Regions from separate parts of the Homo sapiens genome. Here regions 1, 3 and 4 are each linked to region 2. The links are contacts of gene promoters, found by promoter capture Hi-C in human tissues and cell types (Jung and others, 2019). All regions are on one chromosome and are shown on one strand. The core of a region is centred on a gene start or on the middle of the fragment in contact, and the rest is flanking DNA. Distances in the headings are between cores, read along the strand shown. Region 1 holds the start of CAPS (calcyphosine). Region 2 holds the start of PRR22 (proline rich 22). Region 3 overlaps RANBP3 (RAN binding protein 3). Region 4 overlaps RANBP3 (RAN binding protein 3).

Region 1 (3,203 bases), core at 527-3,026, 130 kb after region 2:
TTTATAGTAGAGACAGGGTTTCACCATGTTGGCCAGGCTGGTCTCGAACTGCTGACCTCATGATCTGCCCGCCTCGGCCTCCCAAAGTGCTGGGATTACAGGCGTGAGCCACCGTGCCCGGCCAGTTTATTTACTTATTTTTAAGAGGCGGGCGTCTTGCTCTGTAACCCAGGCTGGAGTGCAGTGGTGCGATCATAGCTCACTGCAGCCTCCAACTCCCGGGCTCAAGTGATCCTCCTGCCTCAGCCTTCCAAGTAGGTGGGATTACAGGAACACACCACCATGCCTGGCTAATTTTTTGTAGTTTTTGTAGAGATGGGGGGGTCTCACTATGTTGCACAGGCGGGTCTCAAACTCCTGGGCTCAAGTGATCTTCCTGCCCTGGCTTCCCAAAGTGTTGGGATTACAGGCATGAGCCACCGCGCTCAGGCAAGGCAACTTCTGACAATATAATTGTGCTGTGAGCGAGGTAAAGCCAGGCTTGGAGAAGGCTCCGATTGATGATCCTTGGGTCGGGGCGAACAGTGGGTCCTCAAACAGGGCCCACGTTTCAAGTCCTGGAAAACCCACCTATCTTAGCGGGCAGGTATATCCGATGTCTCCGTTGAAGGCCTTCAGTGAGGTGGCTTCGTCTCTTGAGGTTTATGTCCAGGATCAGGGCTGCTCTTCCACTCGGGGTCACAACCTCTGGCTCACCACCTTGTCAGGAGCCAGCCCACTAAGTCACGTTTCAGGCCTGAAAACCAACAACAAAAGATCCGTAAAGACAGAAATCCTGGGACTGGCTCCTAACAACGGCCAGTGACAAGCTTTGTGGCAGTGAGCAGAGGTGTCCCTCAGGCTCAGCTCAGTCTCTGTGGGTTGCAGGACCTGCCCTTGGAGGTGGGCCTGGGTGGGAGGTCTTAGGGCCCCAGGACCTGGGCCACCTGGGGCTTTTTTTTTTTTTTTCTTTTTGAGATGGAGTCTTGCTCTGTCGCCCAGACTGGAGTGCAGTGGTGCAATCTTGGCTCACTGCAAGCTCCACCTCCTGGGTTCAAGCGATTCTCCTGCCTCAGCTTCCTAAGTAGCTCGGATTACAGGCGCCCACCATCATGCACGGCTAATTTTTGTATTTTTAGTAGAGGCGGGGTTTCACCATGTTGGTCAGGCTGGTCTCAAACTCCTCACCTTGTGATCTGCCCACCTCGGCCTCCCAAAGTGCTGGGATTACAGGCATGAGCCACCGCGCCCAGCCCACCTGGGGCATTTTTGTTGCTGTACAATAGAAACAAGTTCTCTATATGTTCCCCAGGCTGGTCCAAACTCCTGGGCTCAAGTGATCCTCCCACCTAGACCTCCCAAAGTGCTGGGATTTCAGGCATGAGCCGCAGTGGCCGGTCAGAACCTGGGGCCCTTTTGAACTTTGATTCCTCAGCAATTTTGTCAGCCCTGGCTCGGGCTGAGAAGCCCCTGTGAAGCCAGAGAGGGAAAGGGACCTGTCCAGGGTCACACAGGAATCATGCGTCAAGCCTCCCCAGCCACGGACTTGTCTCCATCCAGGGCATTTCAGCCCCTGCAGGGCAGTGGCCTGCCCCTCCTCCTTGGAGCCAGGAAGGGATGCAGTGCCACAGGGATCTGGCTCTGTCCCAGGCCCTGTGGGGCTGGCAGTTGAGTAAGCAGTCAGGCTGGGCGCACCCATCCCTCCCCCACTCCCCACTGCCCAGCACAGTGCATTCATGCAGCTGGGCCCCACCCCATCTCCAGAGGCACCTTCCACTAGCAACAGTCTCCCCAGGCACAACACAGCTAACACAAGGCCCCGCAGGCAGGACTCTGGGACAGACGCAGGCCAGGTGAGCATCTGAACAAGGGGCAGTCGGCCAGGGTGGGCTTGCGGGAGTCCCCACCTTGACCTCTCTCCCTTCCAGCTGCCCAGAGCCCAGACCAAGCATGGACGCCGTGGATGCCACCATGGAGAAACTCCGGGCACAGTGCCTGTCCCGCGGGGCCTCGGGCATCCAGGGCCTGGCCAGGTGAGCTGTCCCCTCTCACCTTCCTGACCCCGGCCCCTGAGACCACTGTTCCAACCGTGTCCCCTGCCTCCAGGTTTTTCCGCCAACTAGACCGGGACGGGAGCAGATCCCTGGACGCTGATGAGTTCCGGCAGGGTCTGGCCAAACTCGGGCTGGTGCTGGACCAGGCGGAGGCAGAGGGTGTGTGCAGGAAGTGGGACCGCAATGGCAGCGGGACGCTGGATCTGGAGGAGTTCCTTCGGGCGCTGCGGGTGAGCCCCCACCTCACAGTCAAGGCGTGTGCCCTGGGCATGGGGCGACAGAGGATGCTGAGATGCGGAGACGGGGACTCCTCCCTAAGAGCTGCTGTTAAGAGGCGCCTGCTGGGGCATACAGCCCCAGTGCTCTGCACAGCGTCTTGGGGGTTTGGGTGTGCTACCCACCACCCCCAGTCACCACCTCCTGTCCCAGCCCCCCATGTCCCAGGCCCGGGAGGCTGTCATCGCAGCTGCATTTGCCAAGCTGGACCGCAGTGGGGACGGCGTCGTGACGGTGGACGACCTCCGCGGGGTGTACAGTGGCCGTGCCCACCCCAAGGTGCGCAGTGGGGAGTGGACCGAGGACGAGGTGCTGCGCCGCTTCCTGGACAACTTCGACTCCTCTGAGAAGGACGGGCAGGTGGGTGGCTGCGCGGGGGGCCCCCTCCCCAGGCAGTTCCTCGGCCGTGCCCCCTCACGGCCCTCTGTTCCCAGGTCACACTGGCGGAATTCCAGGACTACTACAGCGGCGTGAGTGCCTCCATGAACACGGATGAGGAGTTCGTGGCCATGATGACCAGTGCCTGGCAGCTGTGAGCAGCTCCGGCTCAGCCCTGCTGCCCTGGCCTGTCACTCCCCACCCCTGCCGGAGACCTCCCTTCCCTGGGCCCCTTCTCTCCTGGGCAGCCACACCACAGAGCGGGGAGGGGCAGGTGGGGGAATGGAGGCTGCAGGACTGGCTAGACCAGGTCCCTGCCGGTCCACCAGGCGGAGGTGGGACAAAGGTCCTAACAGGAGTCACTGGCTCAGGACCCCAGGGAGAAACGCTCTCCCCACCCACGCCATGCTGACCAGAGATCTTGCAGCCCCTGTGGATGCCCCCGCCGAGGTCCCCCGATCCCCGCACCCGGACTGCTGCTCCCTGCCCCTCCCTTGCGGGTCCCCCAGGAAGCCA
Region 2 (3,690 bases), core at 504-3,003:
TCCCAGGTCCTCCCTGGGCCCCGGGGGAGTGGCGCTGGCTGGGCCTGCCGGCTGCCTGGCCTTCCTTCCCGGCTTTCCCTTCTTGGCCGTCGAGGCCTTTCTCTTGCCAGACAGAATGGGGGCCGGGGTGTTGGTGGCAGGGGGCCCCGGGTGGGGCGGCTGCTCCTCGTCGAGCGCCTTGAAGTTGAAGAAGTAGTCAACGTTGGACACGGTGTCCAGGATCTCAGGCACGCTGTAGTCAAAGGACAGCAGCTCCTCGGGCAGGCACAGCGAGCGGATGTCATCGGCTGAGTTCCCACCACTGCTGTCAGGCAGGGCCGGCCCAGGGACCTCGCACAGGGTACCCTCAGGCTCAGAGGCGCCTGGCAGGCAGTCGAAGAGCTTCATGGCGTCCTCCAGCAGAACCTTGTCAGGCAGTGCCAAAGCTCTGGCCGTCTTGGGGGCCTTGGCCTTGCCTGCTCCCAGCAGGGCCCCCTCCTTGACCTCGGCCACCTTGAGCTCGCTGAGGCCCGGTGGGTACAGGGGCACCCCAGGTCGGGCCCCACTGCCCTGCAGCTCCTTGACGGGGAAGGCCAGGGGTTCGGGCCCAGGGAAGTGGCCGAGGTGACCCTGGAGGTGGCTGTAGGCGTCTGGGGGCAGTGTGGGCTCTGCAGGCAGCGTGATGAGTACAGGGGGCGGCTTGTTCTCCTTGGGGGGTGGGGGTGGCAGCGGGGCCGGGCCTTCCTCTAGGGGCGGTAGGGGCAGCTCCACGAAGGCGGCGGGCCCTGCGTCCCCCACAAAACCCAGAGCCTCTGGCCCGGGGCCCTCAGGCGGGAAGTAGGGCAAGAGAAACTGGGGCCCCCCGGGTGCCTGCTGGTAGTGGGGGTATGGAGGCAGCCCCGGGGCCTTGAGGTAGGGCTGAGGCTCCAGGAGGTAGCTGCCTGGGGCGGAGGGGACCCCCGCTGGCCCCCCGCTGCTTGCTGCCAGCTTATACAGGGCTGACTGGCCCAGGTCGGGGGTGGTCCACTCGATCCGATAGATGCGGGGGTCGAAGAAGCACCCGCATGGGGCCATCTGGAAACCTGTGGGCGGCAGGCGGGTGCCCTGAGAGCAGCTGCTGCCTGAGGGGCCCAGCCCAAGCCTGGGGGCCTGTTTGGGAGATGCCACAAGAACCTTGCCATTGGGGGGCCCCTTTGGGGGACGACATAGATATTGCTTTGGGGCCCTGGCTGGGTGATGGATGACACAGAGCTTGTCTTTGGGGCTCATCTGGGGGACCTGTGTGAAGCATGGGGAGCAGAGGCCATGCCTTCAGGCTCCCACTTAGGGACGGGGCAGGGGCAAGATGGGCCTGCACACTCAAACCCACTCCCAGCCTCGTCAAGGGCTCAGGGGAGGCCGGTACCTGCTGGTGGGGCTGGAAACACCTCTTTCTCTGGGTCTGGGGGATGATACAGGTTCAAGGAGCCTGTGGACAAAGGTGCCCAGGTGGGTAGGGCCCTTAGGCGGGTGGGCCCCTGAACCCTCTCCAGCAGGTGCTCCCACCCACCCGATCGTACCCATAGCGGGAGGAGGCTCGGCACAGGTGGGAGCAGGCTGGTTGCCCAGCACCTCAGCCCCCTCCAGACTCTGCGGGCTGAAACCTTCCTGGGGAGCTGCAGGGGCACAGAACGGTTTGGGGTGCTGCATGGGGCAGCGGGGGGCCCGGTCCAGACAGGCCAGGAGGGCGGCAGTGGGAGTGCAAGTGGCCCAACCGGAGAACAGGCTGAGAACCTGGTGGGGTTCTGTTTGCCTGGTTACTCGGGGCAGCGGGTTCCAGCCTGCAGCGCGCCCACTGGTTGGGGTTCTGGGTGTTGGGGGCAAGCAGGGGCAGACGTTGGCAGACATGGTCATCACCATGGGAGGGAGGATTCTGGGCCAGGCCTTTGCCTCTTCCAGCAACACCCCCCTAACAGCTTTGAGGCCGCCTCCTCCAGGCAGGCTGCCCTGATCCACACCCACACAGGCTGAGGCCCCCCGGGTCCTCAACCCGCTACCTTCTTGGGGGTCAAGGCCTCTCTGGGCACCAGCAGCACCCAGCTTGGGGCAGGGCCCATGGAGGCAGCTAAGAGGTTTGGGGAAGGTGGGGGCCGAGGAGGGGCTGCTTCAGGGTCACAGAAAGGCCTGGATTTTAAAAGAATAAAATTTATTGTACTCTCCTCGCCCCAGGGTGCCCCTGGGAAAGCCTGAGGCTACTTGTACGCGTTGGCCTTGTGCTTCGGCAAGAAGGCGAAGCTGGGGGGCACTGGCCCAAGGAGCATCTCGCTGTGGGAGAGCAGGTGGAAAGCGAGGTCAGGCCCAGGACCTGCAAAGTACCCTCCGTGACCCCGGGCCCCCGACTGCAGCTCCCCAACTCCAGCCCACCCAGGCACCTGATGCGGATCCAGTCGGCTGCCTTCTGGCTGGCCATCAGCGTCTCCAGGTAGTCGCGGCCCAGGTAGTAGGGCGGCCGCTCGTTGATCCTCTGTGGGAGCCGCTCCAGCAGCCCCACGGGCACGTACCTGCGGCGGGTGGGCGGGCAGGACAGGCTTGAGTCAGCTCTAACCAGCCGCGGCCCACGCGCCGCCCACCCCAGCCAGCCCCGGTGCCCACCGGCACAGGAAGGACAGCCACTCGAGCAGAAAGCGCCGGGTCTTCTCCACGCCCTGCGTGTCCGAGCCCCAGTGCTCCAGGCCGTAGTTGGTGAAGTCCCGCAGGATGTCCAGGCGCTCGGACGACGAGATGTCCCAGTGCCGCTGCTCCTTGATCTCCGTGAAGAGCCACGGCTTGAGCAGGGCGCCACTGTGGGACGGGTGACGATCAGTGGGCCCAGCCACCAGCCTGCCTGGGATCGTGTGGCCTCTGCTTCCATGGCCTGGCCTGAGCCGGAGCCCAGACCACAAAACCTACAAGCCTAGTAAGCCTCCCAGCTGCATGCACACAACCTTCAAAGCACAGGACTTTCTTTTGTTTTTTCTGAGACGGAGTCTGGCTCTGTCGCCCAGGCTGGGGTGCAGTGGTAAGATCTCGGCTCACTGTTCAACCTCCGTCTCCCAGGTTCAGGCAATTGTCCTGCCTCAGCCTCCCTAGTAGTTGGGATTACAGGCGTGTACCACTACACCTGGCTAATTTTTGTATTTTTAATAGAGATGTTTCACCATGTTGGTCAGGCTAGTCTTGAACCTCCGACCTCAAATGATCGGCGTGCCTTGGCCTCCCAAAGTGCTGGGATTACAGGCGTGAGCCACACACCTGGCCAAAGCCCAGGACTTTCAACCCACAATCATCAGATCCCACAGCAGCAGCAATTTCCAGTCCCCTCTGCCGCAACGCAGCTGCAACTCCTGACATCGCTCTCTGCTCCTCCCATCTTGGGACCAACAGCCCACCACAGAACAGGGGTGGGTGACGGCGTGTTGGGTTCAGGGCACTGCTGCTGTGCATGAAGCTGGATCTCTAACATCCCTGGGCACTTACCGGGCAATCATGATCCCGGTGACACCAGTCTGCATGGCGCGGTTGGCATCCTCAAATGACAAGATGTCCCCATTTCCTGAGGAGACAGAGGCTGGGGTCTCAGGGAGACATGGGCAGGTGGGACCCTGGAGTTCTGCTCACCAGCCCTTCAGGAGTTTTGGCTGACCCAGTGGCTCCCATCAGGGTGGTACGAGGGGGTCCCAAGTGGGAAGGCGA
Region 3 (3,709 bases), core at 526-3,025, 160 kb after region 2:
AGTCAAAATGCCTTGTTGAAACGGGGCCATCAACTCAATGCTGAGAGTTATAAGAACCCACCTCTTCCCTTGACACGGACATCACGCCAGCAGCTAACTTATCTCACAATGCTTTTGAAGTCGGCAATGAATTTATATATGGTAGGTTGGGTTACAGAATTCAGGTTGTTAAACTCGCTTGTTAAATCTTTTATGAGGAATTTCAGCCACGTGGGAGAAACTTTCAGGAAACCTTGGAGTTGGTTCTCCAGTGAAAGACCAAAAAGGCAGGCTCCATATTCTTCAGAAAGGGGGAGCGGCTTTCCTTAAAATTTTAAAGCTGGGGGCCAGACGTGGTGGCTCACGCCTGTAATCCTAGCACTTTGGGAGGCTGAGGCGGGAAGCTCGCTTGAGGTCAGGAGTTCGAGACCAGCCTGGCCAACACGGTGAAACCCTCGTCTCTACTAAAAATACAAAACATTAGCTGGGCATGGTGGCACATGCCTGTAATCCCAGCTACTTGGGAGGCTGAGGCAGGAGAATTGCTTGAACCCAGGAGGCAGAGGTTGCAGTGAGCCAAGATCGCCCCATTGCACTCCAGCCTGGGGGACAAGAGTGAAACTCCGTCTCCAAAACACACAAAAAGTTTTGAAGCTGTGATTAAACATATTTATCTAGGTAGGTCTGAGCAAAATTAATGTGAGAATGCACAAAAAAGAGGTCTAGAAATTCACCAACTTCACAGGCGTTACCTTTGGGATGGCAGGGTGAGTGGGGAAGGGGCAGGGATTCTTTTTAGTTGAAATATTTCTGATTTACTTTAAAGAAAAAACAATTATGGGCCAGGTGCGGTGGCTCATGCCTGTAATTCCAGTACTTTGGGAGGCCGAGACAGGTGCATCACCTGAGGTCAGGAGTTGGAGACCAGCCTGGCCAACAGGTGAAACCCTGTCTCTACTAAAAAAATACAAAATTACCCCGGCATTGTGGTGTGCGCCTGTAATCCCAGCTACTCGGGAAGCTGAGGCAGCAGAATCACTTGAACCCGGGAGGCGGAGGTTGCAGTGAGTTGAGATCACACCACTGCACTCCAGCCTGGGCAAAAAGAGTGAAAGTCTGTCTAAAAAACCAAAAAACCCCAATTATGAATGCATTACTTGTATAAAATTTTGAAAAATGAGTGATACATTTCTTCACAGGTTGTTTTTAGAGGACTTAGAGCTCCATGCAACCAGGCCCTGCTTGCAGAAACAAACATGAGGGCTTATGAAGCCTCATCTCACGCCAGATCCCCAGACTATGAGCTGAAGAGTTGGGGGAAAAATTTTAACAGCTGAAGAAGAACTGACTTTAAATGCCCGCTGAAGATCTGATTTTCCCACACCAATTGCTTTTCCTCCCAGGAGAACCCCCAGGCCGGGCGGGAAGGCAGAGGGGCCGGGGCTCACTTGGCTCTGAGTCGGAATTGCCTGCAGATGGCTCGCAGAAGCTTGATGGCATAAAAACATTGTTTTTTGAAACTGTTGACAAGGAGGTGCAGGCGGGGGAGGGAACAAGAGGAAAAACAGCATGAATGGGTGGGGTGGACGCTCAGAGATCACCTCTCCCACCTGAGGGGTGGATTCTCACGTCCCACGGGAGGAGACGGAACAGCACGCAAACAGGGCATTCAGTCTTTCCCGAGAACAGCAAACCCCAAGACTCTTTACAGCACTACGAGGGTCTCCAGCCCGACGGCCTTGATCTGTCTGATGACTACAGTCAACTCTGGTCAACTGGGGGCACCCCCTTGTCCCTGCACCTCTGCAGGGGCAGCCGGCAGGGGAGATATCAGATGCTCCAGGCCACATTGGAGGCCCTGACTCCTCCTCACCTGTCAAGGCTTGTCCATGGGGTTCCCCCTCCCCCACCTAAGATCTTCCTTCACCAGGGCAACTGCTTCCCAGGGTGTGGGCCAGCCAACAGGTTTCCACAAATGAAGTGGAATTCGTAGGGGAAGAACTCACTCTACGCAGAATGGAACCAAAGACAACACTGTTCAAATTATTGGTGCCCCTCACGCCTCCAGTTACCCTGGAGAGCTGAGTGTCTCTTGGGGGCTGCTGCGCTGGACGGGAGGTGATTTGAAGAGGGCCGGGGAGAAGAATGGTGGTCCCTCGCCTCTTTAGCCTACATTCACAGCCCAAACACCTCCTCTTCTCTATGCTGGTTTTCGATACAGCAAGCATGGTTCAGCAGTGGGCAGTGAGGGGGAAGGAATAAAATCAACGAGCAGGAAGTGGAGCTCCCTCATTCCACAGAACACCTATCCACAGGTGCAAAGATCCTTAAATTAAAAGGATGCCAACTGCAGCCTGGACTGCAAGCCATCTGGACAGTTCCGCAATATCCAGTCAGCAGATGACAGTGTAATAGCACTGGAAAACCTAATGCAGCTGTGCAAAAAGACGCGGCCATGTCCAAAACCAACGTGATGGGAAAAGGGCATGAAAACAAGGGTGTGGAGGGGTGACTTGGGAAGGACCCTGGCTTCCTACGCTGTGTGTTCCTGTAACGCATGCGTGACTTCTGTAAGCAGAAACAACTTGACATCCTGAAGGTTCAGGACTGTAAAATGATTTACATGAACTTTCCAGGAATGGATTTCAGTTGGGTAACCAGAGAACCTGTCTAAACACTCATGTATGTCCAAGTTGGCACTACAGACAGCTAAGACAGAGGCCACGAGACAATGCCAGAGTGGGAAGTCAAGACGGGGACGAGAGAATAGCCCTGCAGTGGCATTTACCCTCAAATCTGCAGAGTTGTGCCCATGGCAGGAGGCCGGGCTTTCTGAGTGTTATATTAAGTAGTGCTGACGGCATTATCTGCCTCAGGAACCTCTCTCCTGTACCAGCCTGCATGAGTCCCCAGGCCGACCTCCAGGCCTGTGCTCAGACCAGGCCTCACGTCCAGGGCCTTCAAGCCCTTTAGCCTGCCCTGCTCCACAGTCCGAGCCTGGCCCACCCTTCCAGGCCCCCGCAAGCTCCTCTCCTCTGGGAGTTCACAGCATCACACACGGGCCTCTGCTGGGGCCTCCTGGCTTGCTGGTTACCGTGTGTGTGTGCATGCTTGTGTGTACATGCGTGTGTGTGTCTGGGCTACTGCACTGGACTGCCCGTGCTGGGCATGCAGCTGAGGGGTTGGGAGAACACCCCACCCCTAAACCCCCAGTCTGTGTCCAGCCTTGGAAAGAGGAGATGTAATTAACAGGCAGAGGCCCCAACAGGGCTCTCAGTAGTCAACCCCTTTCCTCCATTTCAGAGGGACGATCTCTTCACAGTCTTCCTCAGGCCACCAAGTCTCACCATGCCGTCAGTGTCACTGATTCGAGACGAGGACCCCTGATGCTGCACTCTGGACAAGCTCTCACCTCACTCCTGACAGAGCCCGAGCCTCAGATCGACTCTAACCGGAGCTGGGCAGGAAGGACACAGCAGACGGATGCGCGGCACTGAGGGGAATGGCGGGTTTGTAAGCATAAACGCTTTCACCATTCCGTAAGTTTGCATATTTTACCTGACTGTGAGGGTGGGAACTGGGTTAAAGAGGATGTTCTTTCTCGCTTGACAGGAGGGCAGTAATTTCCATCTTCTCTGTCAGAATCTACAGAAAATGATGAGAAGAGGAGGAGAAAAATCAGGTTGCTTCTGTCTTTAAAACTGAAGATGGTCAAAGGTGTTAGAGAGCT
Region 4 (3,502 bases), core at 366-2,865, 170 kb after region 2:
TAAACATATATATAAATGAAACTAGTAACTCCAGAGAACATCAAATCACTTAGAACAGCGTCTTGACTCGGATGCCTGGAGGCACAGGTGTGCTGGGTTTGTGAAATGCACCCAGAATGATGTGACGTGTGCCCTCTGCTGTATGCATTTATCATCAATAAGGAGTTTTCAAGACTCACTGAGAGCGGGCGTGTAAATGGGAGTGGGAGAGCAGCGGAGAGTGTGGCAGCGCTATTTGGCGCCATGAACTGTGACCTTGCAGGAATGTGGCACCTCCTGAATTGCAAATGTTAGAGACTAATTTAGCTTTTTAAAGTTTACAGGCCAGAGGGCAAAAAAAAGGGCCACCGCTCGCGCTGTTTGCAGACAGTTCTGGTAGAAGAATCCTAACGCTCAACCTGGATCTCTAAGTGAGTGCTGGTTGGGAGGAAAGGATGTCTGGAGTTGCTAGAGGCCTGAGAGTCCATCTTGCACAGCGGCTGAAGGAAGAAACACTCTGGGGTGTTCTGTCACTTGATGGGACAAGAGCAAGGCGGCCTGTAATGCCCACGCAACACCATCTGTCTCCTACCCAGGGGCAGCCAGATCCACAGCCCTGTGCCACTCAGCCCCGGAGTGGGTGGCAGCCCAGGAGGCCCTGCTGCCCGCACAGGAAGCACAGATGAGGACTGCCTCGACCCCACGAGGAGGCGCAGACCACACCTGCCTCATGGCCTTGGGCCTGCATGCACTTTGATGAACTCTGGGGGTGCTCCCAGGGCCTCTTTCACCATTCAGGGCACTGAGGGCCTAGCGTGGAGGCCAAGCAAGAGCAGCTGTGACTCTGGTGAATGCCTGCTGTGGGCTGCGGGCTGCGCACTGGTGCCTCCGCGTTGAGCAGGGTTTGGGAAGAGCCCTGCCTTCGCAGGCCCCCCGACCCCGGTCGTGGGGAGCCAGGCATTACCCAGGAAGCATGTGCTGCCCATGATCACGACGAAGGCACTCTGCTTGGGCATTGACCTGGTCTGCTCTGGAGTCCAGGGGAGGTCCCTGAGAAGAGGGGGCTGTGCTGGGGTCTCAAGAAGAGCTGGAAGGGAGAGCAGCAGCAGCTTGAAGTCACAGCTTGCGGGGTGATGGGGCCAGGGGCAGGCGGTGGGCATGCTGACTTGCTGGGGAAATGTCATAAAAGGCAAGGGGATGCCTGGGGTTGGTTTAGGTTGAAAGCAAACAGTTTGGGGAAGGGAGTGAGAGTGGCTGTGGGGAGACCAGGTGGGTAGTGACTGAGGTGGAGAGAAAGGGACAGCACCAAGATGACCAAACAGACACCATCCCACTCCTGCAGACGCAGGACAGACTCTGGTCTTGACCTTGGGGCATCAGTCCACAGCCAGGCAGCCCACTGATGGTGACATTCCCCCCACCATGCTCCCCGAAGCCTCGGCACACCAGGGTCTGATTCACCGTGTACAGCCAAGGCAAACACTGGAGTGAGTGGCGTGCGCGAGACCCAGGGGCTACAAGGGAGCAGGGGAGGTCAGAGGGGTCTCCAACCAGACTTCCAGGTTTCCCTAAGCAGACTTCTTGCCAACACAGCACACAGGTGCTGCTTGACAAACGTGAATGAATGCACCTATGCCAGGCAATAAATGATGTCAAAGGAATGCTGGGGGACTCTGGGACAGAGCAGCAGCGTATCCACACCATGTGTGCCACCAGGATCCTAGAGGTCTTCCGGTGCCACGCCTGTACCCCACAAGCCCAGCCCTGACCTCTGCATTTGCCTCCCTGCCAGCTGCCAGGTGACAAGATGCACAGGAAGGAGCCAGGGTTTGAGCCAGCTTGGCACTCTCCAACCCCATTTTCTTTAGGGAGCTACCCACCCCTCGTCCCCCTGTCCCCCAGTTCAGATGGAGCCAAGCTCAGCCCCAGCTCCAGGCCTGACAAGAAGAGTCCCGCATGCATCGTCTAACACATGGCACATGAACAAGGCCAGGCCTTTCGCTGGAGATCCTGGGGCTGCTGAGCTGCTGGTGAATGACCCTGAGGCTGCCAGCAATCCCATGTCACCGAGAGGGGCCTTGGACCAGAGCCAACCAGAGGTAGCAGAGTCACAGAGGGAGGGGGAAGACTAAATCTGGCCTGTGTTCGGCCCTGAGTCAAGCTTGGCCCAAAGCTAACTCTGCCCCCAGACTTTTCAGTGAAGCCAATCAGTGCTGATTTTTGCTTAAGCCAGTTTGAGCTCGATTTCTGCCCCTTGTCGCTAACAGACTCTGGCCTGAGAGAGGCGCGGTCCAGCCACTGCAGACTGAATTACACACATGCTGCACTCCAGCATCTGTGGAAGAGACCTTGGACAGGCCTCAAAGTGACGCTAAGATGCTTTCTTTCTCTTCACAGCAAGTGTCACTGCCTGATCCACTCCATATTGATGGGTTTATGGTCTGTCTCACCCATTAAGATATAAACTCCATAAGATCCGAGACTGCTTTGTTCCCCTGGGTACCCCATGGCCTGAGAACAGTACTTGGCACACTTTATGGATTCAACAAACACTTCATGAAGGGGGAGGGAAGGAGGACATTAGTGAAAATGTGAGGCGAAGACACTTGGTGCCAGGCTAGTAAGGAAGGGCTAGAAGAGAGAGAACCATTTGGATGGGAGAGGAGTGCGCGCTGGTGTTGAGAACCGTGTCGGTGGATCTGCAGGTGCACGGAAGGGACTGCAGCTATTTGAGTAACTATGGGAGGCCTGGGCAGGCTGTGGTGCCAAGGTGCTGCCCGGAGCCTTCTGGACACACGGCAGGGCTGAGGGGCATGGGCCAGGAGAGGGCCCCTCTGATGGAGCAACCCTGTCCTGTGCCTGGACATGTGACCCAGCTGGAGACAGAGGGAGGCTATGGAAGGGGACGTGAGGGTCAAGCTCTGAAAGGAGCCACCCAGAGAACAGAAAGCCAGGGTGGAGTCCAATCAGATCCTCCACAATTGCCTCCCATCTCTTGTTCCTGTACCCACCCCTGCCACCATTCAGCCCTCCTTTCCTTCTCTGCCTCTACTCTCACTCCCTTAGATCTGGCCTCCACAGAGCAGCCAGAAGCACTATCATGAAACACACACTTAAAACTGCAGTGTTGGCCGGGCGCGGTGGCTCACACCTGTAATCCCAGCACTTTGGGAGGCCGAGGTGGGGGGATCACGAGGTCAGGAGATTGAGACCATCCTGGCTAACACGGTGAAACCCTGTCTCTACTAAAAATACAAAAAATTAGCCGGGCGTGGTGGCAGGTGCCTTTAGTCCCAGCAACTCGGGAGGCTGAGCTTGCAGTGAGCCAAGGTTGCGCCACTGCACTCCAGCCTGGGTGACAGAGCGAGATTCCATCTCAAAACAAAACAAAACAAAACAAAACAAAAACTGCAGTGTCGGCCGGGCACAGTGGCTCATGCCTGTAATCCCAGCATTTTGGGAGGCCGAGGCGGGAGGATCACCTGAGGTCGGGAGTTCGAGACCAGCCTGATCAACATGGAGA

Evidence for each region. The method cuts DNA at HindIII sites, captures the fragments that hold promoters and counts their contacts. A contact is called where the count stands out against the background at its distance.
Region 1: a contact is called between the fragment with the promoter of CAPS here and the fragment with the promoter of PRR22 in region 2, in 8 of the 25 tissues and cell types used here (H1 embryonic stem cells, adrenal gland, bladder and 5 more).
Region 3: a contact is called between a fragment that was not itself captured here and the fragment with the promoter of PRR22 in region 2, in 3 of the 25 tissues and cell types used here (dorsolateral prefrontal cortex, mesendoderm cells and stomach).
Region 4: a fragment that was not itself captured here is called in contact with the fragment with the promoter of PRR22 in region 2 in 1 of the 25 tissues and cell types used here (dorsolateral prefrontal cortex).

Annotation. Positions count from the first base shown.
Region 1 is chr19:5,912,478-5,915,680 of GRCh38, forward strand. It overlaps CAPS (calcyphosine), which reads left to right and starts at 1,777. Exons shown (of 5, transcript NM_004058.5): 1 at 1,777-1,832; 2 at 1,908-2,012; 3 at 2,086-2,263; 4 at 2,463-2,669; 5 at 2,744-3,203. The coding sequence starts at 1,930. The coding sequence ends at 2,845. The HindIII fragment of the contact is 10,666 bases long and covers 1-3,203 here.
Region 2 is chr19:5,782,993-5,786,682 of GRCh38, forward strand. PRR22 (proline rich 22) reads right to left here and starts at 1,754. Exons shown (of 3, transcript NM_001134316.2): 1 at 1,539-1,754; 2 at 1,385-1,447; 3 at 1-1,061. The coding sequence starts at 1,668. It overlaps DUS3L (dihydrouridine synthase 3 like), which reads right to left. Exons shown (of 13, transcript NM_020175.3): 10 at 3,475-3,550; 11 at 2,611-2,799; 12 at 2,391-2,519; 13 at 2,148-2,283. The coding sequence ends at 2,211. The HindIII fragment of the contact is 36,623 bases long and covers 1-3,690 here.
Region 3 is chr19:5,938,084-5,941,792 of GRCh38, forward strand. It overlaps RANBP3 (RAN binding protein 3), which reads right to left. Exons shown (of 17, transcript NM_007322.3): 5 at 3,538-3,624. Among named protein-coding and RNA genes, the nearest start is that of CAPS, 26 kb to the left of the region's middle. RefSeq lists a silencer at 1,691-1,871. The HindIII fragment of the contact is 7,736 bases long and covers 1-3,709 here.
Region 4 is chr19:5,958,054-5,961,555 of GRCh38, forward strand. All of the region lies in intron 1 of RANBP3 (RAN binding protein 3), which reads right to left. Among named protein-coding and RNA genes, the nearest start is that of RANBP3, 18 kb to the right of the region's middle. RefSeq lists enhancers at 98-746, 1,396-2,044, 2,693-3,342. The HindIII fragment of the contact is 5,100 bases long and covers 1-3,502 here.